Linked DNA regions of Homo sapiens: regions 2, 3, 4, 5, 6 and 7 are each linked to region 1. Evidence: promoter capture Hi-C in 16 types of primary human blood cells and fetal thymus (Javierre and others, 2016). All regions are on one chromosome and are shown on one strand. The core of a region is centred on a gene start or on the middle of the fragment in contact, and the rest is flanking DNA. Distances in the headings are between cores, read along the strand shown. Region 1 holds the start of ZKSCAN7 (zinc finger with KRAB and SCAN domains 7). Region 2 overlaps EXOSC7 (exosome component 7). Region 3 overlaps ZDHHC3 (zDHHC palmitoyltransferase 3). Region 4 overlaps ZDHHC3 (zDHHC palmitoyltransferase 3). Region 5 overlaps TGM4 (transglutaminase 4). Region 6 overlaps TGM4 (transglutaminase 4). Region 7 holds the start of TMEM42 (transmembrane protein 42).

The links. Contacts are between HindIII fragments. The CHiCAGO score rates a contact against its expected background, and 5 or more counts as called.
Region 2: a fragment that was not itself captured here is called in contact with the fragment with the promoter of ZKSCAN7 in region 1 in 2 of 17 cell types (total CD8 T cells and naive CD8 T cells); the score reaches 5.4 in total CD8 T cells.
Region 3: a contact is called between a fragment that was not itself captured here and the fragment with the promoter of ZKSCAN7 in region 1, in 5 of 17 cell types (naive B cells, total CD8 T cells, activated CD4 T cells and 2 more). The highest score is 7.0, in naive B cells.
Region 4: a fragment that was not itself captured here is called in contact with the fragment with the promoter of ZKSCAN7 in region 1 in 5 of 17 cell types (total CD8 T cells, naive CD8 T cells, total CD4 T cells and 2 more); the score reaches 8.0 in total CD8 T cells.
Region 5: a contact is called between a fragment that was not itself captured here and the fragment with the promoter of ZKSCAN7 in region 1, in 16 of 17 cell types (total CD8 T cells, naive CD4 T cells, endothelial precursors and 13 more). The highest score is 13.6, in total CD8 T cells.
Region 6: a fragment that was not itself captured here is called in contact with the fragment with the promoter of ZKSCAN7 in region 1 in 5 of 17 cell types (endothelial precursors, naive CD8 T cells, total CD8 T cells and 2 more); the score reaches 5.6 in endothelial precursors.
Region 7: a contact is called between the fragment with the promoter of TMEM42 here and the fragment with the promoter of ZKSCAN7 in region 1, in 5 of 17 cell types (M1 macrophages, M0 macrophages, non-activated CD4 T cells and 2 more). The highest score is 8.1, in M1 macrophages.

What each region holds. Positions count from the first base shown.
Region 1 is chr3:44,553,233-44,557,009 of GRCh38, forward strand. It overlaps ZKSCAN7 (zinc finger with KRAB and SCAN domains 7), which reads left to right and starts at 1,961. Exons shown (of 6, transcript NM_001288590.2): 1 at 1,961-2,249; 2 at 3,698-3,777. RefSeq lists silencers at 1,715-1,764, 1,875-2,014 and an enhancer at 3,527-3,777. The HindIII fragment of the contact is 2,808 bases long and covers 988-3,777 here.
Region 2 is chr3:44,979,767-44,983,543 of GRCh38, forward strand. The region is part of intron 1 of EXOSC7 (exosome component 7); the gene reads left to right. Among named protein-coding and RNA genes, the nearest start is that of EXOSC7, 5.4 kb to the left of the region's middle. The HindIII fragment of the contact is 1,694 bases long and covers 923-2,616 here.
Region 3 is chr3:44,949,241-44,953,017 of GRCh38, forward strand. All of the region lies in intron 2 of ZDHHC3 (zDHHC palmitoyltransferase 3), which reads right to left. Among named protein-coding and RNA genes, the nearest start is that of ZDHHC3, 25 kb to the right of the region's middle. The HindIII fragment of the contact is 254 bases long and covers 1,694-1,947 here.
Region 4 is chr3:44,929,186-44,932,962 of GRCh38, forward strand. It overlaps ZDHHC3 (zDHHC palmitoyltransferase 3), which reads right to left. Exons shown (of 7, transcript NM_001135179.2): 6 at 121-251. Among named protein-coding and RNA genes, the nearest start is that of ZDHHC3, 45 kb to the right of the region's middle. The HindIII fragment of the contact is 2,449 bases long and covers 771-3,219 here.
Region 5 is chr3:44,908,172-44,911,948 of GRCh38, forward strand. It overlaps TGM4 (transglutaminase 4), which reads left to right. Exons shown (of 14, transcript NM_003241.4): 11 at 1,919-2,197; 12 at 2,787-2,956; 13 at 3,099-3,235. Among named protein-coding and RNA genes, the nearest start is that of TGM4, 35 kb to the left of the region's middle. The HindIII fragment of the contact is 1,408 bases long and covers 1,186-2,593 here.
Region 6 is chr3:44,886,208-44,889,984 of GRCh38, forward strand. TGM4 (transglutaminase 4) reads left to right here. Exons shown (of 14, transcript NM_003241.4): 3 at 1,482-1,588. Among named protein-coding and RNA genes, the nearest start is that of TGM4, 13 kb to the left of the region's middle. The HindIII fragment of the contact is 7,378 bases long and covers 1-3,777 here.
Region 7 is chr3:44,859,929-44,863,705 of GRCh38, forward strand. It overlaps TMEM42 (transmembrane protein 42), which reads left to right and starts at 1,984. Exons shown (of 3, transcript NM_144638.3): 1 at 1,984-2,188. The coding sequence starts at 1,997. It overlaps MIR564 (microRNA 564), which reads left to right and starts at 1,960; the gene lies at 1,960-2,053. It also overlaps a transcript of KIF15 not described here. RefSeq lists an enhancer at 1,444-2,033 and silencers at 2,064-2,113, 2,444-2,493. The HindIII fragment of the contact is 26,756 bases long and covers 1-3,777 here.

The sequences.
Region 1 (3,777 bases), core at 711-3,210:
AAACACCTATAATACTTACAATGTGTCAGGCACCATTCTAAGTGCTTTATGTATTTTATCTCATCCAATCCTCACAACAACTCTACAATTCAAGTATATTATTATCCCCATTTTCCAAATAAGGAAGCTATGCACAGAGAGGCTAAGTAACTTGTCCATGGTCACTCAGCTCATGGGATGACACCCAGGGTTCTAGTTTGGGTCCCTGGGTGAATGATAATACTTTTTACAGTGATGGGGATATGGGTTGGAGCTTCAGGGTTGCGGATAGATGGTAAGTTTCGTTTCAGGCATGTAGAATTTGAGTTACCTATTTGTTAGCTCTCATACCAAAGCTTGAGTGATGATTTTCAAGAGAAATCGAGTTGGAGTACAGAATTCCTAAAAGCCTTCTGTGGTTGTCTTTGGCCCAAAGGTAGGTGTCCTAAGGTGCTATATCGAGGCATCATCAAGTGTCTTGCCCACTGGGGCCCAACCCAGTCATGGTAGATCGGGCCAGGCCCACAGTGTTGGTCACAGAAGTGCCTCTGAAGTCTAAACACACTGCTCAGATGGGCCTGGTCCTTACAGCCAATGAAAGCCAACCACTTGTGCATGAAACAGCTCTGAAGAATAAAAAACCTCAATCTTGGTTTCCAAATCCTTGTGTCTCCTATAATAGGAAGCCAGGACTGCAGGACAACACGTGGTCAAGGAGACCTGAAAATCAGGTCTGAGAGCATTTAGCCTGGCCTTGGGAGATTTCCTCCTCAAGAATCCTAAGCTTCTGGGGCCTTGATTTGCCTTCCACCTCAAGAATCCTAAGCTTCTGAGGCCTTGATTTGCCAGTAGGCAATGTCTAGCATCAATGTCAGGCAGAGGCTGGGGTTCCTGGTTTTAAATAGCCAAAACCTCCTTGTGAGATTTCCAAATGGAGAGGGGGACCTTGATGACAGGAAACCACCATTAGGATCAATGGACAAAGATTGCTCCAAGAGATTACTTTTAAGCTTGTGGAAACTCTGGAGCAGGACTTCTGGTGTCTTTGTTTCTATCTTGGCTCACACAGATATATGAGGAACATATGTCAGGGCCAGGGTTAGGCCCAGGGCACCTTTGAAATATTGCCATCCCTAGACAGTCCAGGAGACTGTTTACTTTGGGCCCTGTAAAGGACCTATCTCCTGTGCTATAATAAAGATACACAGTTAACTTCATCACACCCTTTGCCCTTCACCCGTGGTCATTAACACACAGGGCCTGCTCAACCATGTTTGTAACAAGGACCAGTTCATATCCTCCTTCTGTATGCAAACCATTCTTCAAAGTGAAAGTCACCTGGGTACCACCTGCCACCCAGAGGCTAGACAACTGCCTACTAGGTTACAAACTGTCCCCACACCTTCTCAGTTTATCTGCTTCTTGGTCTCCCTAGGAACCTCTACATGGACACCAGAATGCTGGTGCTGTCTTACGAAATATTAACCACATTTATGGGCCAAAATATCACAATTTCTAGACATGCTTCTTCATTTTTAAGATGGGAGATGCTTGCTGCTCCCTTCACTGAGACTTCAGATTGGGCATCACACATGGTATAACTGACTGCTCAGGATATGCCAGGCCTTTTGCTATGTAGTGTCTGTTAACCTCATGCGGTGCTCCCAGCCCTGTGAGGTACGCATTATGCTCTGCATTTTTTTCAGATGAGAAAACAGGCTTGGAGGTTGGGTATCTTTCCCAAGGACACCTGGAGGAGAAGGTGTAGAGCTGGGACGCGTCTGGATCCCCCGACTATGGCCTGAGAGCGGGATGTGAGTGGCCTGGGCCCTCGCGAGACCCCGACCCCGCCCGCGGCAGGTGGCCGGGCACAGCCGAGAAGTAAGCCCTGCCAGCTCTCCCGGGTGCGGGGACGCGCGCGCCCACCTTCGCAAACGAGACTTCCGGGATCCCGGAGGGGGCGGAAGTCGAGGCCTCTCTCGCTTCCGGCTCGGCCATTGTTTTTGGTCTAACGGGCAGTAGAGTGTCCGGCTTCGGTGCCGAGTGCCACCGCGAGTGGGCCGAGACGCGGAGGGAGGCGCGGCCGGAGCTCGGGTCGCCGACGCTGGCCAGGACCGCGCTTCTTCCCGGCGGCAGGCGGCGCGGTCCCCGTGACTCTCAGAAGCCGCCCGATGTAGAGCCGCTTCTTTGTCTCATACCCCTGACCATTCGTGCGTGGCACGGAGCCGGGTATCTGCGGGTACAGCGATGAACAGGGCAGACGTGGCCAGGTGAGCGGCGCTGCTGAAGCCTGGTTTAACACGAAAGGTAGATCGCTGTTTTCCCAGCTCTTGCAGTAGGAAACTGTATGAACTGTCATATTTGGGTCAGACCCAGGCTCAGAATCGCAAACGTGGAGCGTGACTTGGAAATGCAAAAATCCAATTGAGATTTTAAAGTGCTGAGCATTCGGAACACTATGGGAAGCAGGAGAATGGCCTGAACTTTCTACATATATGGGATCTTAGAGCAGAGTTTACAGATTATTTTAAAGTCCTTCTTTGTCTTTTTAAAGAGATTGAGACACAGGGATCTGGGCTCTTGGTGAACTGGAAGCACAGCACAGATGCCCTAGTTACCAGTAAGGTGCTGATTTTAAAACGTTCAAAGTTTTCCTCCACTTCAGTGTCAGCTAAATGTATCATATTCATTCATTTCCCAATTATGTGTGCCATGTGCACACGTGTACAAAGATGACTGGAAGTCAGCTCTGCCCTTTGTATCCTCCCAGAAAGCAGGGGAGACAGTCGTGTAAACCACAAACGATTACAGTGTGAGATGTGCTCTACTAGAGGTTTGAATGAAAAAGGTAGTTTGGGATCACTGAGACAATAACCACCTCTCTAAGCCTAGCGTGATCAGGAAGGCTTTCTAGGGGAGGTGCATTGAGTAAAAAAAGGTCTAGTATTTTCTGATTCCATTTGGTTCCTTTCCTTTGGTGGCCGTGCAGCAGTTTGGAGGGTGAGAGTGGTGAGTTGTGCATAAACCAGTTAAAGGGTTATAGTGAGAGGTACACAAAGGGAAGCTACCAGCACTCTTCCTGATGGGGCAATCAGGAAAACCAAGAAAAAGTTGCCTTTGTTCATGGTCTTGACAGACAAGTTTGCCAAAAGTTGAAGAAGAAAAATTCAAAGAAAGAGTATGTGTGGCTTCTAAGTGTGTCTCTAGAGCTTTAGCTCCAAACTTTCTTTATTTTGCATTTCTATCAGTAGAAGAGGTTTGATCACTTACTCCCTACATTGGTTTATTTGTAATTTAAACATGAATACTACTATACAAATTGTAATGCACATTATAAAACATACATTAAATAGGAGTTAAATAACTTAGTATTTTCTCTTGCACCCTTTGGGATAGCCTGCATTTCCCACATTGGAGACCATTGCTGTCTTTCTAGCATGGGTACTTGGGGTGAGTGGTAGAGGGTGTGGCTGGTTGTGAAGGGGGTAAGGCCAGGTTGTGAAGGGCTGTGAATGCAAGGCATAGACATTTAGATTTTATCCTGTAGGTAATGGGAGCCACTGAAACTTTAAGAAGGGCATCATTTGGAGAGATGCTTACTAAGAATGCCTGGTTGTGTTCTTTTTTCCTGGAGCTTTGTTTTTTAACTCAGTGGAGGATTGTCATCAGCCTGGGGCTGAATACTCCAAGAACTCTGATTTCACTCTTGTTTCTGTAGGCCACACTACCATCACCCCTTTCTCCAACCCTGAAAAACAGTTCCTGAGACCTGAACTATTGACCATCATTTTAATCGGA
Region 2 (3,777 bases), core at 520-3,019, 430 kb after region 1:
GGTTGAGGGAAAGGATGGACAGAATAATTAGGCTCAAACATGGCCACTAGAGGATGTGTCACACTTGGGAGAAGTCAGTTTGTGAGAAGGGAGGGTGGATCATTTTAGTTATTGGCAGAAAATGGAACCCTCTTCAGGTAGTTCAGGAGACTTTTATGATGGGACTCTAGAGCAGTATGGGGGGGGTTTCAGGGAACCAATAAGAGATGTTGAGGAGCCCCAAGACAACTACTGGGAGTGGCTACTGCCCCTATTCCAAAGGGGCCAGGGGAGGAAACAGTATTACCACATTTCAGTGATAGCTGGAACTGTGGAGGAAGGGCTGCCCAACATAAGTCATAGTCTTCGATAGATGCAGGCACTATCAGAAATGTGGCCACTAGATTGGGGGTGAGGGGCACCCTCTGATCTGGTATCTTCCACTGGACAAACCCAACCAGAAGCCAGCAAAGGGAGTCTAGGTGATACAATTTGAGTCAACCTGGTGAACAGATCCCCTCTCCCAGGGGAGAACAGAGAATCAAAAAGGTGGATTAAATCGGTATTTTGATAAATAATTTGATTGGTTTCTGTTAGGTTCTCTTTCAGTCTTTGAAGGCTATATCCCATTCTTATTAGGTACATATTATAATTTTTATTTCATTGAATATTTACAACAGTTCTGAAGGTAAATGTTATCTCTATAGATGAGGAACTGAGCTCGGGCAGGTTGAGTCGCTTGTCAAGGTGACACAGTAATTGAGTGGTGGCACTGGGATTTAAATCCAGACCTGTCTGATTGCAAAGCCCATACTTGACTCTGAGGCCACCTTCCTGCTGCAGTGAAAGTCATTTCTTCCATTTCCTCAGTAGGGATCCAGAGATCAAGGCAGGAGAGAATCTTTGCTTCCTCTACCTCCTTTTCTTTCCCCCTTTCTCTAAAAGCTTGTGGGGAAACTGGAAGGGAAAGAGAAAGTTCTAATTGACACCTCCCACTCCCCAGTTTTTCTAGAGCTTAAATAGTATATGGCATATACTGCTGTATTGTTTTGGTTGCATTTTTCCCACATTGAGTATAAGTTCCTTTAGAACCCTATATTGCATTTCTTTGTATAGCTTTTGTCTTACTAGTATCATAAACGATTTACTCTGCCCATACCATGCAGAACTTGGAGCAGACTTCAGAATTTTTAGAATCTAGGATTTATCCTCTTTTCTGGCTTACTGGGCTAGATGTGTGTTTTCCTCATCCATGAGAAGCCATTGCTAACCTCCCTCTTAGCCCAGGGATTCTGAAGCCTTGAAGTGCATTTTACTCACCTACAAAATACAGATTCTGAGGCTTTACCCCAACATTCTGAATCAGACTCTCTGGGGCTGGGGCCTGAGAATGGACATTATCATAAAGTGTTGGGAAATTTGGGGGCAGCCACCAGACATTGGCCCATGGGTAAGCCACTGACCAGAGATAAAGAAATCTCTGCTCTCTCCTGCTGAAGTCATATGGTTTCCTGCCTCTTTTTGAATGAGGCTTTGGAGTCAGACTGAGCAGGCACCTTCACCATTTACAATAAGTGGTTTTACTTGCATAACTGAACCTGCTTCCCTTGTGTAAAATGGGGACTTATGCACCTGGAAGTAGAATGGGGTTATGAGGAATGATGAGATAAGAGATGTCAAGCACTTGGGCTGTGGTTAACACAGAAAAAATGCTGGCTCCCTTTCAAGTTTGTTTTTCCATCAGAAGTGTGACTTTGTCTTAAACCATCCACACTAGATCCCCAGCCTTCATAGTGACCTCATTAAAGATTCAGCCTGTGGCTCCTGAGAATTAAACCTCTTTTGATTTGAAGGAATCGGGATTTTTCAATTATCTCAAGAAAAGGGATAGGCCAGGTGCAGTGGCTCACACCTGTAATCCCAGCCCTTTGGGAGGCTGAGGTGGGAGGATCACCAGAGGCCAGGAGTTGGCATCCAGTCTGGGCAACATAGCAACACCCTATCTCTAAAAAAAATTAGGTGTGTGGTGGTGTGTGCCTGTAGGCCTAGCTGCTTGGGAGGCTGAGGCCAGAGGATCGCTTGAGCCCAGGAGTTGGAGATTTCACTCCAGCCTGGGTGACAGAGAGATACTCTGTCTCTTAAAAGAAAGAAAAAGAAAAAAGAGAAGGGGGATCTGTGGCAAGAGCTGGAAAGTCCCCAGACAGCTCTGAGGTACCGCCTCTCATGGGCTCCGTGGATTATCTCATGGCCTGTGTGGCTGTCTGTCTTTATCTCTAGTGACATCTCTGCTTTTCTCTGCCAAGATTTATCCCTTCTCTGCAGCCACTTGCTGTCCAGCTTCCCTTCTTTGTAGAATCTGCCTCTGCCCAATACCTTTACTTTCGTGTGGCCTCTCTGGGCTCCTCCATATCATGACCTGTCAGCTCCTCTTTAACTCCTTTCTTCTCTCAAGTGTTTCTCAGATCAGAGACCAGATTGCAATGAGAGAATCAGTTTGGTCTGGTAGTATTTCACGCCAAAAAGAGTTGGTCACCCTTTGGATTATATGCCTTTGGTTCAGGCACCTACCCCTGGTCCTGGCTGTTGGGGATGGATGGTGACTGTTATGTGGCCTTTACAGGGCTTTAGGCACAATAAAGCTTTCCCAGGTTCAGCCTACTGAGTGCTATGGCTATGACCTGGACATTAAACTGGCCCTCATAGGTTCAGACCTGGCCATGGCAATTGACGAACCCTACCACAGGGCTCTTGGAACCCTGTGAAAGCCATTTTATTGTATGTTCTTGGCTGTTGAAGGGAGTTGTAGCCCAGCTGATGGCTTCCATTTCTTTTCTGTGGATCTTGCTTTCATCATAAGCATTGTTTAGGGGTATAGCATGGAAGAGGGAGATCAGGGCCTCAGCCTGGTTTTCAACTATGAGATTGAGCAGTCAGTATTCGGTTGCTCAGTCTGGCCATGACAGAATTGGAGCCAGCCCTCAGGACTCTTGATTTTTAGCTCTCTGCCCTTTCTGTTTACAGACCCATGGCACAGAAAGCCTTATGCCCAGACACTGCAGGATGCAGAGTTATGGAGCCATATCCTTTCAGAGGAATGCCTGGCTACTCAACAGGGTTGGAAAGTCAAACAAGGATCAACACCTACTTTTGCCTGCTGTGTGATGGGCCCGAGCCTGCAAAGCTGGACCAAATGTGGCCCCTTTCCTAAGGGCGGGGGGCAGTCACCTTCTAGTAGGGGAAGGAATTTAGTCTCACTTCTCCTTTAGGAATCTGGAGTATTAGACAAGTCAAAGCAAGTTAATGAGGGGTTAACATAACCTCAGAGGACCACTTTGAGTCTAAAGTCCTTCCAGATGTGTCAGATTGGTAGCGCCAACTTGTCAGTTTCTATTAAGAAGTAATAGGACTGGGCTTCCTGGGTGTGAGGGAAAGTAGGTCTGTGCTTAAATGTCCTTCCACTCTGTCACAAACAGGAGATTGAAACTTAGGTGCCTCCATTCTTATCTGTAACCTCTCTCAGGGTTGTTTTTGAGGATGCAGTGAGTTAATGCATGCCCCCAGAAGCAGGGGAAGGGAACTGCTTTGGGGGGACTCCTATGTGTTACACTGAAGGACTCCTTTAAATGCTTTATGACGTTTCTGTTCTCTTGTAACTCTGTAAGGTCGGGGTTATCCCTGCTTTCTAGATGAAGAAACAGGCTTAGAGCTATTTAGGTCAAGGTCACAAAACTGGCATGTGACAACAGAGATTTAAGTATAATTTGGAAGGTGGCTGTTTCCACCACACCACACCCTACT
Region 3 (3,777 bases), core at 571-3,070, 400 kb after region 1:
GACATTAAATATGCTATAAAAATACACAATTATTGACACAGGAAACATCTATAACAGATTTTATATACATATACACATACATATAAATAAGAAAAAAGAAAAAAAATGTGTGGTGGTACATGTCTGTAATCTTAGCTACTTGGGAGGCCAAGGTGGGAGGATAGCTTGAGGCCAAGAGTTTGAGAGCAGCCTGGGCAACATAGTGAGACCCTATGTAGGAGGATCACAGGTACTTTTAATTTTCTTGACTATATTTATGAAATATTCTATTAGAAACAAGTGGCTTTTGCAAAGAGGAAATGATCCATTAAAAACAAGCAAAACAAAAACAAAAACAAAAACTTGAGGAGCCACCCAAAGTAGGAATATGATCAACTTTCCTGAGGCTTGTAACCAAAATGTCATTATTGTCTCACCTTGAGACATCCAACGGGCCACCAGTGAGGCACTGTGAAGGGCCAGGGTCTGGAAGGTTTCATGAAGGTGAGGCAGGGCCCAGACCACATGGCATAAGTGGATTTCCAAGGGGGCCTGGGAAGGGCACTGGTCCAGGCAGAGGACAGGGTCTCAAGCCCAAAGGGCCTTATTTTTCATTATTTTTTCTTTTTTTTTTGAAACAGGGTCTTGCTCTGTTGCCCAGGCTGGAGTGCAGTAGCACGATCTCAGCTCACTGCAGCTTTGACCTTCCAGGCTTAGGTGATCCTCCCACCTCAGCCGCCCAAGTAGCTGGAACTACCGGCACAAGCCACCATGTCCAGCTAATTACAAAAATTTTTTAGAGACAGGGTCTCACTATGTTGCCCAGGCTGGTCTTGAACTCCTGGACTCAAGCGATCCTCCTGCCTTGGCCTTCTGAAGTGCTGGGATTACAGGGGTGTGAGCCATTGTCCCCAGCTGTGTTCTCTTTCATGTAAAAAGTAATTGAGTTTGGGCAACTGTGTGGATCCTAAAACCAGAAAACCACAACTAGAAGTTACTATTGTCATGTGTATAAGAGAAAAAGTGCAAAGGGACATCCTTTCCCCCAAGGACATGAAGCAACGAGGCTTGAGTTTTCCTAAATTATGGCCCAGGTGGTTTTTTTGTTTAGTCCCAGTTTTTAAGAAGGTCCCAGCCACCAGAATGTACTGTAAGCCCCAGGGGACCCTGTATAAAAGACTGCAAGAGGAAACCTCTAACCCATAAAAGGGAATCAGAGCTCTTGTTTGGTATTCTCATTACGGCCTATTTATTCCAGACCTTGAGTAGAGACATCATTCAGCAGCTCAGCCTTTCTAAACATGTGCCCCCACAATGAGACTCCATTTGCATAAATCTCCCAAAAGGCCCATCTCCATTCAGGCAGGGCCCCACCCATCCAACCACCTGAGCCCACCTCTCAGAGCCAGAGAGCAGCTGGGCCAGCCCCCAAGACTGAGGAGTCTGATGCATACACTTTCCAGTCTCTGCCTCAGGCAACTTTTTGTTTCATTCTTTTTTAAAATGCATATTATGCTCTTTTGGGCTCATCTCCACAGATTTCAGAGCTCTTTGTTATTAGTTCATGGTAAGGAACTTTGTTCTTTACAATCCTGGACAGACAGCAGGAGATTGAAGGCCTGAGACATTTTTGTCACTGCTGTCATGCTTGCATTACTGAGAAATGCCTATCCCCCTACCCCACGTTCTTACACACTCCACAGGGATGTCTTGAAGCTTCCACACTGCTGCAAGCCTAGCAGGTCAAAATGCACTGACTTTATCTCTCTCATTTCCAAAGTAATACTTGTTCATGGTTTTAAGAAAGAAAATACAGATGAAAAAGTGGAAAAGGAAAAATTCACTCTGATTTGATCACCCAAGACAAGTACTACCAACATTCTGAAACATATTCTTAAAGTCTTTTCTCTTTGTACTAAAGTAAAAACACTTTAAAAAATCTATAGGCTCATAAAAAGCAGATCACAAAGCTTCCAAAATATACATTTGGCCCCACAGTGGAACCAATTTAAATCTGTTTTAAAATAAGTGTGTAGAAGCTGTTAAAGCTTTTCTGCTCTAGTCATGGCAGAACTCCTTCCACATTCTCTGCACAGAGCTCTGAGTTTTCAGTGCAGAAGGAACATAATGGTACTTGTATGTGCACCTGTGTGTATTTAGGGGTGGGGTAGGGTGTGATGTGCCTCCATCAGCCATTCCCCTTAGTAGGTAGCCCAAACTTCTAGTACCTTCCTTGACCCCTGCCCACTTCCTTTTCTATTTTGGAGCAAATTAAGGCTGCTAGGGTTAAATCCTTCTCATATTCCTCATCTCACTGCCTCACTGTCCCTGGACTCACGGGTACCCACTGTCTTGGAAGATGAGGCTCAAGTCAATCCTGGCCCTCAGGGCCCCCATACCATTACCTCCAAGCTTTCTCCTTGTGTTCTTAGCAGGCTCTGAGCTCTCCCTGCCCTTTCATAGCTAAGCTGCTTGAAGCCTTGTGCACCTGATGTCTCTGCTGACCTCTCCCTTACTGTTCATGCACCTGTCCCCTCCATACCAGGGAACTGTTCGCACCAGGTCACTGAGCAACTCACTGTGGCCAAATCCAAAAGTCAATTCTTAGCCCTTGTCTTCCTTGGGGTCTCCTCACTGTCCTTCTCCCTGTCTGTGGGGCTGTGCCTCTCCCCTCCTCTTGGAATCCCGCCCATCCAGGCTACTGGTGTTCCTCAGGGTTCAGGGTTTCACCCCAAGACTCCTTCCTTCCCTGCTCATTCTGCACTCTCTCCTGAACAATCTTCAACTCTACTTCCACCATCACTCGGTGATAATGCTCCAATCACAAGCTCCAACTCAGACCTCTTGAATCTGCAGATCTCTCTATTTGGCTGTCCCAAAGGCACTGTGCACAGCTAAAACGGAACCTGCTGCTTTCTCCCCAAACTGTTCCCTCAAGTCTCCCTTTCCTGGCCCATGGCATATCCATGTACCCTGTCACCTGGGGTAGAAATCCAGTAACCACCACCAATTCCTCTAATCCTCTTCCCCACATCCCATTCACTCCACCAGGTTAATTCTGCCTCAGACTGTGCCTTGAATCCCATGCTCTCCCCTCCATGCCATCATCATGCCTTAGTTCAGCCCATCATCATCTGCCCCAGACTATTAGAGCATCTCCCAGGTCTTCCTGCCTCTAGTCTCTCCCTCAAATCCTGCAACCCACTTCTATCCTTTCTCCCAACTAATTTCCAGAGTAAACTTTCTTAAATGGAAATCTGATCACATTATTCCCCTGGCCTAAAACCTTCACTGGCTCCCTAGGGACCATGGACCAGAGTCCAAGCTCCTGGGCAGGGCTCTTGAGGCCACCATATCTCAGCTCTGGACTACCAATCCAGTGCCACCTCCCTCCGTAAACAGTCCCTCCCTGTGGTCTATTTGGAGTTTCCCAAAGGCAACATTCTAAGTTTTCCTTTCTACCCTCAGGGGCTCCATTTAAGCACCAACCAAACCCTCACCCGCTCCAACTTGCCAGGCACCTCCTTGCTTCTAGCACCCAAATTAAAATGCACCCAGGGATCACCTTCTCTGCTACTTCCTCATGGCCCCAGGCCACATCCAAGGCAGAACCCATTACTTAGCCTTTGTGCTACCACAGCTTGTATGTATAGTATGGAACACGTCATTTAATTACACACCATCTCTCCTACATCACAAGACATTCCTGGAGGACAAGACAACATCTGTCAACTTGTAGCTCAGCAAACTGCTTAGGGCCTGGCACGAAGAATGTATTCAATAACTCAAGCTGAATAA
Region 4 (3,777 bases), core at 745-3,244, 380 kb after region 1:
GCACACCAGGGGCCTGACCACTGGGCTCCAGTCTGACTGTGAGCAGCTCTCCCAGCAACACTGACCCTGGGTCCTCCCCATCCCCAGGTGTGGAAATGGTGGGCAGAGCCACCTGCTTACCGTCTCATCTGTGCAGATGGAGTGCACCTGGGTCCCAAACATCACTGATGTGAAAATGAGGAAGAGCAGGCCCTCAAAGCACAGCAGGATAAGGAGAATCACTGTGGTGGGTGGAGAGAAGGAGCTGCACTCTGAAAGAGAAGCAGCACACAGGGATTGGTACTGTCACCCACTGCCTGCTGCCCAGGCTCACTGCCCCACTAGGCGCCCACTCTGCCTCCTGCTTGCAGGCCTTCATTCCTCCTGGGTGCCATAGGTCTCTGGCCTCCAGGCTACGGTGAGAATCATCCTGGCCCACACTGGCTATCTCTCAATCCCTCAGGGAGGCCTCCTCAACAGGCCAGGCCCCAGCCAGGGCTTCCCTTCCCTAACACAAATCATTCCTTGTTCACTGCCCCCAGTGCCAAGCACAGTGCCTGACACATGGAAGGGCCCAGGAAGGCCTCTGAAGTGAGGCATGAACGCCTGACGACACCACAGGGGACCCTGCTCTCCTCAGAGAGCACAATGCAGGTACACAGGTGGAGAGGCCTGTCCAGTCCTGCTATGGCCATAGGTTTTCTGGGCATTCCTGTATGACGTGCTGCCCCTCTGTGCCCCATCAGCTCACAGGCAGCTGTGGAGGATCACTTGGTGGCTTTGGGATTTTAAGCTTGGCAGGGGCAGCTGAACTACTGGGTCTCAGCCTTGACCACAGTGTGAGGTAATGCACTGCCCCCGCTCCCAGGGACATTTGCAGCACCGAGGCCAACAGTGCCAAAGGCCAGGGAGTCGACCAAAGAGGCATGGGCCCAGAGTAGGCACTTTCACTGTCCTGGCCTCCAGCCCCGGGGACCTGAGGCCAGTCCTGCCATCTTCAGGCCTCCACCCACTGCACTGTGAAGCAGTGAGATTTGACTAGAGGTATGGTTTGCTTTTAAGCAGAATCTTTTGTCTGAACAAAGTCTAAGTCAGAAACCCAGCGCATGGAAGAGAAAGGCAAAGGTGCTGTGGAGATGGTGGGGGTGAGCAGGGAGGGGAAGGCCCTGAAGCAAGGTGGCCTGGGAAATGCCAGGCCTGGAAGATGGTGCTGACAGACAGGCTAGGCCCCTTGGTTGGCACTCTTCACCTAAGGACTTCTGTGCCTCAGTGCAGCGGCCCATGCTGGCTGAGCCTGGGCTGTGGTTTATTTCTCGTTGCTTCCATACTTGTGCCTGTTTCCCTGGCTGGAAAGATCAGATCCTGGAGGGCAGAGTCGGGCTTCATTAATTCTGGGAATTAAGGGAGTAAGCACTCCATCCAAGCTGTCCTGCTGGCTCCCCCACGGGAATGTCAGGAGGGGCAAGGGAGGTCAAATGTGGGAATGAGCTTGGAAAGATACCAAGCACCATGTGGGTGACAGGTAAGAAACATCTCATCCACAATGCATATCTCCTCAGGTTTCCCTGGGAACTTATCGATGCCTCAGAATGATTTCTCTTCTTGGCTCCTTGTGGGGCAGGGCTTGGTTGGGGTGGCCACCAGCCTGATGGCCTGGCCGTGGGTGGCTACAAGTATGGGTGGCCTTGGGCTGGGCAGGGTATTGGGGAGAATGAGAGGCTCTGACATCTGGCAGACACCACGAGGTACAAATCCTGGCACCAATTCCTGATCATGAGCTCTAACTACAAGGCCCATACTAATATTCTGTTCCAGCCCCTGTGTCTTTCCTGTCCTTTGCATTGTGGAATTACCTGTTTCTTTCTGTACTGGTTTGATAGGTGCCTCTCCCACTACACTTCAAACTCCAGGAGCGGGGAGACTTTGTTTTGCTTACTGCTGTACAACCAGCCTTGGGACAGTGCCTGACAACAAAAGGATCTGGGCAAGAGGTTTGGGCTTTCTGAGATTTTGTTTTCCTTTCTGTACAGGGGAATACTTAAGAATTCATGAAAGAACATCTGCACAGTTCGGCCTTGGCCTGGCAGGAGCACATGGGGGTGCCTGCTGGACAAAGCACCTCCTTCTTACCTACCTCTGCTGCCCTGGAGCTGGTGGAAGAGCCCAGGGCCATGGCCTATTCTCCCTCCTTGCAAAGCAGCAAGCATCATTCCTCTGTAGGCTGGGCCCCAGGAATTACCAATGGAGTTTGGGGAGGTAGGAATCAGATCAGGGAGTGTGGAACCACCTCCCTACCCTTCTTTAAATATCAACTCAAAGTGCCCTAATCCTGGGGGACAGCCCTCTGCCCCCACTCACACCAGCTCCTATGGCCCAACAGCTCCACCAGGGCTGAGCAGTGAGGGCAGTAATGGTCATATACAGTCAACTCTCAGGCCTCAACTTTGGGTACTGACCTGTGCCTTCCCAGCCTAGCTGCCATAGAAGCTGGGTGCCTGAAGCTCACTCCATCAGGAATTTTGACCACAGTTAATCAAGAGCATGGCTGGGAGGACCCTGACCACTGGAGTCAACCAGACAGGGCTAAAAATCTTGCTCCAGACCTAGGCTTGAACTACAGACCCTCTTGTTAGCTGAGTGATCCTGGAAACTTGTTCATCCTCTGTGAGCCACAGCTTTTGTCATCTGCAAAGTGGGAAGCATCTCTCCTACCTTGCAGGCTTGTTATAAGGGCGAAACAATGCACTGCTCAAAAAGCCCTTTGGGCCATTCCTGGCTCCCAGTAGGCATTAATGCAATGGTGCCTTCCAGCACCATTACAACAACAGGGACATTTTGCCTCACTGACAGTCTGTGCTACCCCTATCACCTGCCCAAGTCTGTTAACTTGACGAGAGGTGGGAGGTGTTTGGGATGATAAAATATCCTAATTGGACTCCCTTGTCAAGTAACCAAGGCCACATCTGGAGTAGATCTGGTTCCCCAGGCCTAGCAGAAGGCATGTACTTCAGAATGCTCACCAAGTGATCAGGAACTTGCTGGCGACTCACCTAGATATGCAGAATGGCAAGTTCTGCACATACCCACTCACCCCTACCCTCCTCTCCTATCTCTATTGTCTGCTGGCTTGACCTCTGCCATTTGACTTATGCCAGAATTGTGGGAAGAAGTCAGCATGTATAGGAAGAGCAAAAGTTCTAAAGACAGTGAAATAAAAAAAAGGAGGCCCATGGAGGGAAAAGCTTAGGAAATACAATGTTCCTTGCTCAAGACGTTTGTCTCACAGATTGTGAGTATGAAAGAGCCAGCCCAGCAGGTGGCCTCTTATTTCTTTTCCTCCAGCATCTATTGTTTTCCTTCAGGATCTGTGCAATCTTCTGGCTGGAGTTTCTCCCTCAGTATTTGCACATTTCAGTGGGAAGCCTCTAAAGCAGGAAGAATTATCTACAATCTTAATGTAAATTCACGATTATCAGTGTAAGCAGTTAAAAAACACCATCACAAAAACCAAAGAAATTAATAAAGAAACTCCATGTCCTAGCCAGAAAGTAAAAAATGAATCTCTGCAAGACTGGAATAAAATGATCTTTGATTTAAGTGCCTCATGGAAAGACAGAAAACAAAACTTCTCTCCCAGCATGGCTCCCACGCATTGGAACCGGCCTCTGTGCTTGCTTGGGGCCTGCATTCTCCCTGGGCACGCTCAGTCCAGAGGGTCTGTCTGTCCAACTCATGACTTTACCTGTCGAACTGAAGTTAAGGGGCTGCATTTTTTCATGAAGAGAGATTCCAGTCTCT
Region 5 (3,777 bases), core at 640-3,139, 350 kb after region 1:
TTGATGGCTACCAAGGCAGCTCAGGACAAACTGGAGCTCTCCACTTTGAAGTCTCTTTGTGTTCAGAATGGACGTGGATGGAGAGCTTTGTAACCAAGCTCAGAAATTCCTGTCTTACAGCTGCTATCTCTGAAATAGAATCTTATCCTCAGGGTTGTGTTGAAAATGAGCAAACTTGATTAAAAGCAATTAGGTCAGGAGTGTTTTTTTTTGTTTTTGTTTTTTTTGTTTTTTGTTTTTTGTTTTTTTTGCAGGGTGACAGAAGTATCAGGGAGGGAGGGAAAGGATAGAGAGGGAGACCAGTGGTGTCTGTCAACTGCTACACTTGATGGTGTCCCTCAGGTCTCTGAGGCTCTGTTCACTCTTCCTCATTGTTTTTCCTTTCTGTCTCTCAGACTAGATAATCTTATGACCTGTCTTCAAGTTTGCTGATTTTCCTGCAAGCTCTAATCTGCTATTATTGTACTTTTCAACTCCAGAATTTATATTTGGTTCTTTTTTAAAAATAATTTTAATCTCTCTCGATATTCTCTATTTGGCAAGCCATTTGTTCTCACACTTTTTTTTTAGTTTTTTGAATATATTCAAAATAGCTAATTTAAAGTCTTTGTCTAGTAGGTTCAATGTCAGGGCTTCCTTAGGGACAGTTTTTATTGACTGTTTCCATGTTCCTACCCTGCCACCCCCACACCACCATGTATGGCCTATAGTTTGTTTGCATGTCTTGTAATTTTTTGTTAAAAATTGGACATTTTAAAGAACATAATATGGCAACTCTGGAAATCAGATCCTGTCCCCCATCCCAGGGTTGCTTTTGTGGTTGCTATTTGTTTAACAACTTCTCTGATATAATTCCAGAAATTCTATAATCTTTCTTGTCCATGACCACTGAATTCTCTGCTCAGTTTGCTGAATGGTCAGCTAATGATTAGATGGATATTGCTTTAAATTCCTTGAATCATTAAGACTCCTAGCCTTTGGCAAGGGGCTCTGTGTACAAGTTAGGGTACATTTCAATGCTCTGGCAGGCAATTTACAATTCTGCCTTCACTTCTTGCTTGAGCCTCAAGGTCAGTTAGAGGTGAGAGCCTTATCAGATCTTTCTCAGACCTTCTAGATTTCCAGGAATCTGTCTGAGCTTTTCAAAGCCCCCGTGGACATTTTGTCCCTCAGCTTTTCCTTTTAAGCTTTTTGGTCGGCTTCTTTTCCCCTCAACTCCCTTCTTTTCCTTATTGCCTTAGGAAACTGCAGTTGTAAACAATTGCTGCAGGTTGTTTGTCTTAACAAATGCTCCAGGGAAAAGGCTGTTGGTAATGAGGGAGCTCTGAGTCAGGTCAATGAAGACAAACTCTGTGAATGAGGGTTTCCAGGGAATCGCCCTTAGGTCAATTAACAACAATTCTCTGGTAGTGGAGCTTTTAGCGGAACTCCAAAACCATTCTGTCCCCTCCAGAGGTGGCTAGGCTGCTGGTTTTCACTGTGATTTGGTGCTGTGGTTTTTGAGTCTACTCTGGAGCTGGAAAGAAGGGGAGATGGGAATCAGAATGCCACAAAACTATTCTTACTGAGATTGTGCTGTTTTTCTTGAATAAATGCTCCTTAGATTATTATAAGCCTTTAGTTAATTTCAAGAATTCTGAAAAAGTTGATTTGATAATTTTTGCCAATGTTCTCATTGCTTTTATGGAGAAGCAGATTTTTGGAGGTCTTTATTCTGCCATTCCCACTGATGTCAGAATGTGCTATTGCTTAGGAATGGGGATTTGAATGATCCTCTGTGTGAATCTATAGCTCATGGGCTCCAGGGATGTCTCTGGAGTCCTGGCCAGGCAGATGGTCTCCTTCTGCCACACGGGTGGTTGGGACATTTGGTCCTTGAAGGAGCACCTGAAGGAAGCTGCCTTTGTGTCTCTTTCAGGCTCCTCTGAGGAGAGGCAGGTCATGGATCATGCCTTCCTCCTTCTCAGTTCTGAGAGGGAGCACAGACGACCTGTAAAAGAGAACTTTCTTCACATGTCGGTACAATCAGATGATGTGCTGCTGGGAAACTCTGTTAATTTCACCGTGATTCTTAAAAGGAAGACCGCTGCCCTACAGAATGTCAACATCTTGGGCTCCTTTGAACTACAGTTGTACACTGGCAAGAAGATGGCAAAACTGTGTGACCTCAATAAGACCTCGCAGATCCAAGGTCAAGGTACCAGAACCAGAGGGAGGAGAGGCCTCAAGTGGGCTCAGGGTCCCACAATCTGAAATCCCTCTTCTCCTCTGTGGACAACTTCCATACATTGATAAATTTTTGTGTGTGAGTTAACACAAACATTTATTGAGCACCTACCCCTTGGTAGTCACAAGAAAGCCAGCCACAGAAGAAAAGTGAGCCAAAGAGACCACTGGACTAGGAGCCTGGGTCTATCGTAGAGTTATAAATTAGGGGTGCTGAAAGTGTCATGAGAAGTCTTCTATGGTGGCAGAAATTTTAATCTCAGATGCCCAGTCAGATCAATGATTATGAGTACCCAAGGCACAGTGTTGGGAACAAGTGGGATGTCCTGATGACAACGGGTAATGTCTGTCATGGACTCAGGATGTAAGCTTGGAGAACTTGGCCAATTATTATTCCATCTTGAGCCCAACGTCTTGTTTTCTAAAGAGAGTATGGGACATGTCCAAAGTTATCCAGTTCAATTCACACAAAGTTAATCTAATTCTGTGCTTGATGAGGAGAACTCATACTGGGGGGGTATGATGAATGACCTCTCCCCTCCACCCTGACTCTTTGGCAGTATCAGAAGTGACTCTGACCTTGGACTCCAAGACCTACATCAACAGCCTGGCTATATTAGATGATGAGCCAGTTATCAGAGGTTTCATCATTGCGGAAATTGTGGAGTCTAAGGAAATCATGGCCTCTGAAGTATTCACGTCTTTCCAGTACCCTGAGTTCTCTATAGAGGTGAGCTTCCTGCAGGCCATAAAGGGCTCCTTCTGCCTGGAAGTTGGCCATGGAGTGTGACGGGGCCCCTAAGAACCCTGAGGGTCCTTGGTTGGCTCATGCATATCTTCTCTCCCCATCTCTCCTCCCCACCCTACTACAGTTGCCTAACACAGGCAGAATTGGCCAGCTACTTGTCTGCAATTGTATCTTCAAGAATACCCTGGCCATCCCTTTGACTGACGTCAAGTTCTCTTTGGAAAGCCTGGGCATCTCCTCACTACAGACCTCTGACCATGGGTGAGTCTGCCTGAGGTATTCTTAGAAATATGCTTCTGGACATATATCTTGCACATGTGTGCATATTCCTGAGAAGTGAATTCCCAGTATGGGGTCACAGGGTCAAAATGTAGATACATTTTGCTAGTGCCAAATTACTTTGAGAAAAGATTGCATCAATTTATGCTCTACCGACAGATCTTTTTGATTCTTGCCAATCTAGTGGTTAAGTAATCTCATTGCTTTACTTTGCATCTGATTATTTGTGAGGTTGAATATTTCTTACATTAATTGACTCTCTCCTGTGAATTGCCTGTTCCTAACTTTTGTCCATTTTTCTACTGAGTCATTTATTTTTTCATATTGGTATGGTGTCTTTACACAGTAGAGTGTTATGTGCTGTGAATTTTTTTATAGCAGTTTTGTATTCAATTTTTTAAATTTGATTCTTATTTATTTTGAGGTGGAGTCTCACTTTGTTGCCCAGGCTGGAGTGCAGTGACACGATCTTGGCTCACTGCAATCTCCATCCGTCCCCAGGTTCAAGTGATTCTCCTGCCTTG
Region 6 (3,777 bases), core at 396-2,895, 330 kb after region 1:
GTGGCAGGTGCCTGTAATCCCAGCTATTCGGGAGGCTGAGGTAGAATTGCTTGAACCTGGGAGGTGGAGGTTGCAGGGAGGCAAGATAGTGTCATTGCACTTCATCCTGGCGACAAGAGTGAAACTCCGTCTCAAAAAAAAATTAGATCAGGTAGATCTACTTTACAAGATGGCATACAATAGCACTTCCTGGGAGAGCGCTCCTTTTGCTCCTTCTCTGAGTGAACAACAGGCTTAGGGTCTCCTCCAACGTGCTGGTGGAGATCAGTCAGAACAGCCTCCATTCCCTTCATCCAAGATGAAATAAGCACCTACTGTGTGCCATGCCATGAGCTACCTGCTCAACGCATGGACTGGGACCGTGCTGTTGCTGACTTCAGTGACTTTATAGTACCCCTGGGTCCATGTGCATTCCCTCACCCAAAATTTCCTGAGTACTTGCCACATGCCAGGTGTTGCACTGAGCACTCTCCATGTATGACATAGTGTGAATCACTCACTCAACAAATATTTGTTGAGTACCTACTCTGTGCCAGGGAACCCAGAGGTAAAGCAGTTCCTGCCTCCTAGACTTGACTGTACTAGCAGAGAGAGCAGTAAACAAACAAAAGTGCAAGATAATTTCAGACAGGGCCAGATATGATGAAGAAACCAAAAACAAGAGGCTCCTCCAGCAAGACAGAAAGCAGCAGGTCAGGGCGGGGCTGACTCTGTCGGTGCTGACTCTGTCAGGGTTGGAAGGGCTTCCCTGGGAAGTGACCCTGCTGAGACCCACGTCCCACCATGTGAAGAGCTGAGAGCAGGGTGTTCCCAGCCATGAGCACGGCAAGTGCCAGGGCCCTGAGGAGACAACACTTGTGTCACATGCTCTTTGTCATGAGCTAACTCTCTGGGGACCAGAAACCCAGTCATGACAGGGAGGAAAGTGGGGAGCTGGGGAGAAGCCTCACTGAGGGCCACCTGTGGGCTATGGAAAGAGGTTGGATTTGATTCTAGTAGTCCCTGGAGCTCATGACATAAACTGACCGACCTTTCAAACAAGATCCTGCAACAGCTTGCAGGGTAGGCGGTGGCATCTGCCTCCTCCAGACGAGGAGTGAAGGTTAAGCAGTTCCCCTGCATTGCGTGGAGTGAACAAGCATGTTGGTCTGTGGCACGAGCCAGCAGGGTTAAACAAATGGTAACTCGAATGAGCATGTGACAGAGGCAGGAGCTCTAGGGAGACCTGGATCTGATGGGTAAAAAGGGAGGACGTGGAGAGGAGGCAGGAAGCTCATCTAAATTGAACAGAAAACTAAAACTGGACATGTGGGGCAGAAGGAGGCCCCTGCAGAATTAGAGGGGCTGGAGCCAGGGGACAAATGAGCCTGGAAAGGAGGGGTGGGGGCTCCATGAGTGGGCAGTAGGTGGGCCCGAACCAGAGGAGATTGTCTTGGGGGTGGCCCATGGCTGGGCCAATGTTTTCCTTTGGGTGTCTCCAGGGCCGAATCCTAGCATCGCCAAACACACCCTGGTGGTGCTCGACCCGAGGACGCCCTCAGACCACTACAACTGGCAGGCAACCCTTCAAAATGAGTCTGGCAAAGAGGTGAGCACCCACTGGGCTGGCGGGTGGGCTGGCTGGCTTCTGGCGGAATGCTCCTAATGTGAGCAGCCCCTATCCCCTTCCTCACCTGTCAGCTGGTAACATGGTTTAAAGCCATCCACAGCACAGCATGATAGAGGGGCCATGGCTCCAAATGTCTGTTTCCCCACTCAGCCTCCTCCAAGCACACAGTATCGCTGTGGCCAAACCTCCTACATGTCACCCTTCCCCTTTCCATTTCAAAGGGAACAATGTTCACTGGAGGACATGAGCGGAGAGAAGTACATAAAAATAACCCATGGTTCCACCAACTAAGTTACCCATCCTTCCTTCCAGGCTTTTTCTGTGTCATGGTCAAATACAAAATGGGGGTCCATCTCATGCTTCACTCACTTGACAAGACCTAATGGATGTTTTCCACAGTGGCTTCTGCCCGAGTGTGTGGCTTACGGTGGCTGGTTTTCCACCCTTTTTGGGAGCACTGGGTGTTCACAGTTGTCTCCAATCTTCCAGTGTTGTAAAGAACCATGTCTCGGCCAGATCTTTGGACTGGTTTATGGATATTTCCTTGGGCTAAATTCCTAGAAGTTTAATGCTAAGCTAATGCCATGATTTAAAAATGGCAACTACATTGGGTTTTTGTGGAAGCAGAATCTGCTGGTGGAAATGAGATGAATGGGCCAGCTGCTGCTGGAATCCTCGCTAGTGCCCCGGCCTCTTCCTTCCTCTCCCTCCCATCCAGATCCCAGACTCTCAACCCCAATTTTGCATCTGAGTGTTTTTCAGGGTATCATGAAAATCTCTCCTGAGGTGGGCATGGGTTGTGGGCAGGAGCTGCATTTCTTTACTCAAAAAGTGTTATTTTTAATTTTTTTTAATTGACATATAACACACATAAAGGACACAAATCTTAATGGTTTGCACAATGAATTTTTACATATGAATACAGCTGTGGGACCACCAGCCAGATCAAGGTGGAGGCCATTTCCTGCACCCTGGAAGGCTGGTTCTCCTGAGCTCCATTGTAATGAACAGTGAGGGCACAACCTCCTCCCTCTTGCCACAAGAGGGGTATGGGGAGTTAGCCTTGTGGATTCTGGAGTTGTAGCACAGTGAGTTTGATCCCAGCTCCACCTCTTGGGCTACCTCTGTGAACCTCAGTTTCCCCACCAGCAAAATAATGACAATTAAACATTTATATTTATTAGCTCATTTAATTTTCACAATGCTCCCACAAAGAAGGGGGCCTGTTATCATTCCAAACTTTTAAACAAGAAAACTGAGGCACAGGAGAGGTTAAGTAATCAGCCAAGGTCATACAGCCAGTAAGAGGTAGAGCTGGCCAGCCTGGGCAACACAGGGCTACCCCATCTCTACTAAAAAAAAAAAAAAAAAAAAAAAAAAAAAAAAAATTAGCCAGGAGTGATGGTGGGCACGTGTAGTTCCAGCTAGTTGGGAGGCTTAGGTGGGAGAATCACTTGACCCCAGGAGTTCAATGCTGCAATGGCACTCAAGGCTACTTCTGCCATCGCCAGCACCAGCTTCTCTCCAGAGGGTGCTGGACATCTTGCAGCCTCAAATGTGGCACATCCTATGTCAACCCTTTTCCACACCTGCCCTTTCTCCTGGGGCCTTCCTGAAGTCAAAAGCCATCAGATGCCCATGCTAGAAGCCAGTTGCACTCCAGCCTGGGTGAGAGAGAAGGACTCTGTCTCAAAAAAAAGGGGGAAGAGTAGAGCTGGGATTTGAACTGAGAGCCTATTGCTCCTATGAGTTATAATAATAAGCATCTCATGGGAGGACCTTGGACCACAAATGGAAGTGTATTGTGACAAGGATGAGAATTATTATTCTTGGTACCATTGTGGCTACAGCAATATTGATGTATCCTAATTATCTCTCCAGCTATTATTTATCCTAAAAGGCTGGATAGAGGCCTGGACGCCCTTGGACCAATGGCCTTCTGGGACTCTGGCTGCCTGTATTCCAAGAGAAAGGTGTTTTTTTTTGCTCCAAAAGACAGCTGACATTTAACCTTTCCCCTGAAGTTCCAGACACTGGGCTAGGCACCTGTATTAGTCCATTCTTGTACTACTCTACTACTCTAAAGAATACCTGAGACTGGGTAATTTATAAAGGAAAGAAGTTTAATTGACTCACAGTTCCACATGGCTGGGGACACCTCAGGAAAC
Region 7 (3,777 bases), core at 734-3,233, 310 kb after region 1:
AAATCACTTCCCAGCAGTGTCTGAGGATGGCATCACTTCAGCCATCATCACCAGGGCTGGGGACCTGGAGATTAACAACGATGTAGTCCCTGCCCTCAAGGAGCTTGCAGGCTAGCAGAGAAACAGACAACCAGAGGAACAACCACAGGACTGGTACAAAGGTAGGGGAGTAGCAGAGACGGCTTTACAGAGGAGGTGGCTCTGAGATGCTTAACCTTTAGTGCTAGTAGAGGCATCGTTTGTTCTAAGAAAATTTGCTTTACATTCTTTAAAGCATGCAGAGTTGATCAATGCAACACCTCTTGATTTCCTGATAAGAGCTTTCAGAGGGTATCATCTTTGAGCAGCTCCTTACTCAATGGAGTGGTGCAGTGAGACCTCTGAGCCTCAATTTCCTCATCTGCAAAATGGGACAGTTTGTACCATATTGGCGTTACTGAAATTATCCGTGTTTTTTTTTGAGACAGAGCCTTACTCTGTCACCCAGGCTGGAGGGCAGTGGTGCAATTTCGGCTCACTGCAACCTCTGCCTCCTGGGTTCAAACAATTCTCTGCCTCAGCTTCCCAAGTAGCTGGGAATACAGGTGCCCGCCACCACACCCAGCTAATTTTTTTTGTATTTTTAGTAGAGATGGAGTTTCACCATCTTGACCAATCTGGTCTTGAACTCCTGACCTCGTAATCCACCCACCTTTGGCCTCCCAAAGTGCTGGGATTACAGGCGTGAGCCACCGTGCCTGGCCTTATCCGTGCTTTTATTTGAGCCACAAAACCACCCTGTGAGAGAAGCAGCATGGTGTGGAAGGACTTCCATAAAAACTTGCTAAACAGAAGATACAAAAAGAATGCTGCTAAACAGTATGTTCAACTGTGAAATCATTTTTGTTTAAAAAATGCATATACATATTCTATAATTTTTTTAACATTTTAACTATATATAACTAAATAGACATATAGAAAAATGCTCTATTAACACTGATTTTCCTGGAGAGTGGAAATAGCACTTTATACATTTCAACACTTTATTTTCAAGGACGTGTACTTTTTAAATGGGAACATTTTATTTTTATTTTTATTTTTTGAGACGGAGTTCACTCTTGTTGGCCAGGCTGGAGTGCAATGGCATGATCTCAGCTCACCACAACCTTCACCTCCCAGGTTCAAGCGCTTCTCCTGCCTCGGCCTCCCGAGTAGCTGGGATTACAGGCATGCACCACCACGCCCGGCTAATTTTGTATTTTTAGTAGAGACGGGGTTTCTCTATGTTGGTCAGGCTGGTCTCGAACTCCCGACCTCAGGTGATCCACCCGCCTCGGCCTCCCAAAGTGCTGGGATTACAGGCATGAGCCACCACGCCCAGCCGGAAACATTCTAAACATACGTAAGTATAACAGGAGATTAGAAGTCATGTTGATTCTGCGTGGCTTGATTATGGATCATTGTCTTCCTCTCATCGCAGATCCTCATTTTTTCGGTTTTCTGTGATGCGCTTGTCCCCATATGGGGCTCTGGCGTCTTTCTGGGTCTGGAGGTCCCCAGCGCCCTCTGCCGAGGCATCTCTTGGTCCGGCGGTCCTCAGGCTGGAGGGTGGAGCGGAGAAGCCTGGTCGACGTGGATGGACTCGGTGGGCCGGCGCGGGGCCCGTTAGGCATCTTTAATAAGTTTCACCGGGAGCCGGGTGGCCGGGATGGAGACGGCTAAGCCGCGAGAAGTTTACCTTCTACCACAGCGTCCACAGTACCCGGCTTGGCCTCAGGCCTCGGGTCCCGACGTCCTCCCCAGAGCACAAACCTACTACAGGTTAGGCCGGAGGCCGCCACAGCCCAGGGTCTCTGCCACCTGGCCCGCCCCCTCCGAGGCGCCGGAGAGCGATTCCCAAGGGGCCTGCCGGAGCGTGGCGTCACAGGAGCGTCGCGTCACGTGAGGCTGCCATCCAATCGCGGCGCGCGCTCTGCCCTGCGGGCAGCGGGTGCCAGGCACGGTGTCAGCAGGCAACATGGCCGAGAGGCCGGGGCCTCCGGGCGGCGCCGTGTCCGCGACCGCGTACCCTGACACCCCCGCGGAATTCCCTCCGCACCTCCAGGCGGGTGCGATGCGGCGCCGCTTTTGGGGCGTATTCAACTGTCTGTGCGCCGGCGCGTTCGGGGCCCTGGCCGCCGCCTCCGCCAAGCTGGCCTTCGGCAGCGAGGTCGAGCCCGGGGCGCTGTTGGTGCTGCTGCTGCGGGCGGGCGGGCGGGGCGCCGCTGGGCGGAGGAGGGGCGCTGCGGGGCCCGCGGGGCTCTTGGGGTGGGGCGGGGGTGGGCGCAGGGCGCCGCCGCACCCTCGCCGGTCTGTCCCGCCGGGGCCCCGGGCCGCGGGCGGCGCTGCGGTCAGCTGGGGTGGCAGAGAGTGTTTCGCCTCTAATCACGCCAAACCCTCGTCCAGTGTAGGTGGTAAGAGACGTCGGGGACTGAGGCCTCTTCCCTTACCAGGGACCTAAAACCTTTTCTCCGGTTGGGCTAGTTCGCTCTCGGGGAAGAACTACACCTCCTACATCCACCCTCTACCTCTCATTTTAAGTCCCTTGTGCCTGAGCATTTCTCTCCACGTGACTCTTAAGGTGAGAAGCCTCTTGCCCATCCCTTTACTCCGTAATTAACGGGTGTTGTGACCAGATGACCAGTCTGCCCCACTACCAGGAAAATTGGGAGTTTGGGATACTGTAGGCATAAGAGGATACTGACAGAGACGTTCTGGATGTTTTCCTGACGCTGAGAACTCCTAAACTTGCATCCTGGCGTCTGCTAAGGTGTATCTCTGCCTCTCCCTCCCACGTCGTAGACCAGCCTCTGCTTGCTATAGGGGTTTCATTGCGTCTGCAGCCCAAGGTTAGCCTCTGACCTGGACAGTGGTCACTGATTATTTAGGGTTAAGCCTATTTAGGGCTAATCCAGTAGTAGCTGCCATGCTTCAGGTTAGTATCCCATTGGGTGTAGTTCATGGGGTAAGTGGTCGAAAGTAAAATGAATAACTTTGTATGGGCCGTGAAGTTTGTTGTCAGGAACTAGACCTTCATAACCCTTTAAGCAGGTTGCCACTGGCCCATATGCTGCTTTGTGTAAGACAAGGTTGTCCAACTCGCGGCCCAACGCAAATTTGCAAATTTAAAACATGAATTTTTTTGCGATTTATTATTTTTTTTTTAGCTCATCATATATCATTAGTGTTAGTGTATTATATGTGTGACCCAAGACAGTTCTTCCAGTGTGGCCCAGGGAAGCCAAAAAATTGAACACCCTGGTGTAAGTTATAAGCAAGCACCTTTTTCTCAAGACACTATGTGTTCAGCTGCTGAGAAACCATTACAAGTAATAAGTATATTTAGATTCCGCACCCCCCCCCCCCGCCGCCTTGTCTCCAGGCAGGTTTCTAACTCACCACCAAGCAAGGGGGACTGCATATCCTTTGTGTAGGAGGCTTCTAAAGATCTTCTCTTCTCTTGAGACTTTCTCCTTTAAAAAAAAAGAAAGAAAATACCTGCAAGTTCTCCAAGGGATGTCTGGGATCACTAAATAGTCTGAGGTGGTGTTTCCCTCAGGCAAGGCTGTGCCCTAGTTAAGAGCATGGAGGTACACTGCCTGCTTGTGAAGCCTGGTGGCTCTCACCGCTGTAGCACTTTAGGAAGGTTACTTAATGCCCCTGGCTCTTTATCTGTAAAATGAAGTTAAGGAATAAATGAGAATGCTTAAACACAGCCCAGGACCTAACACAGAGTAAAAGCTCAAGAATACCCAGAGG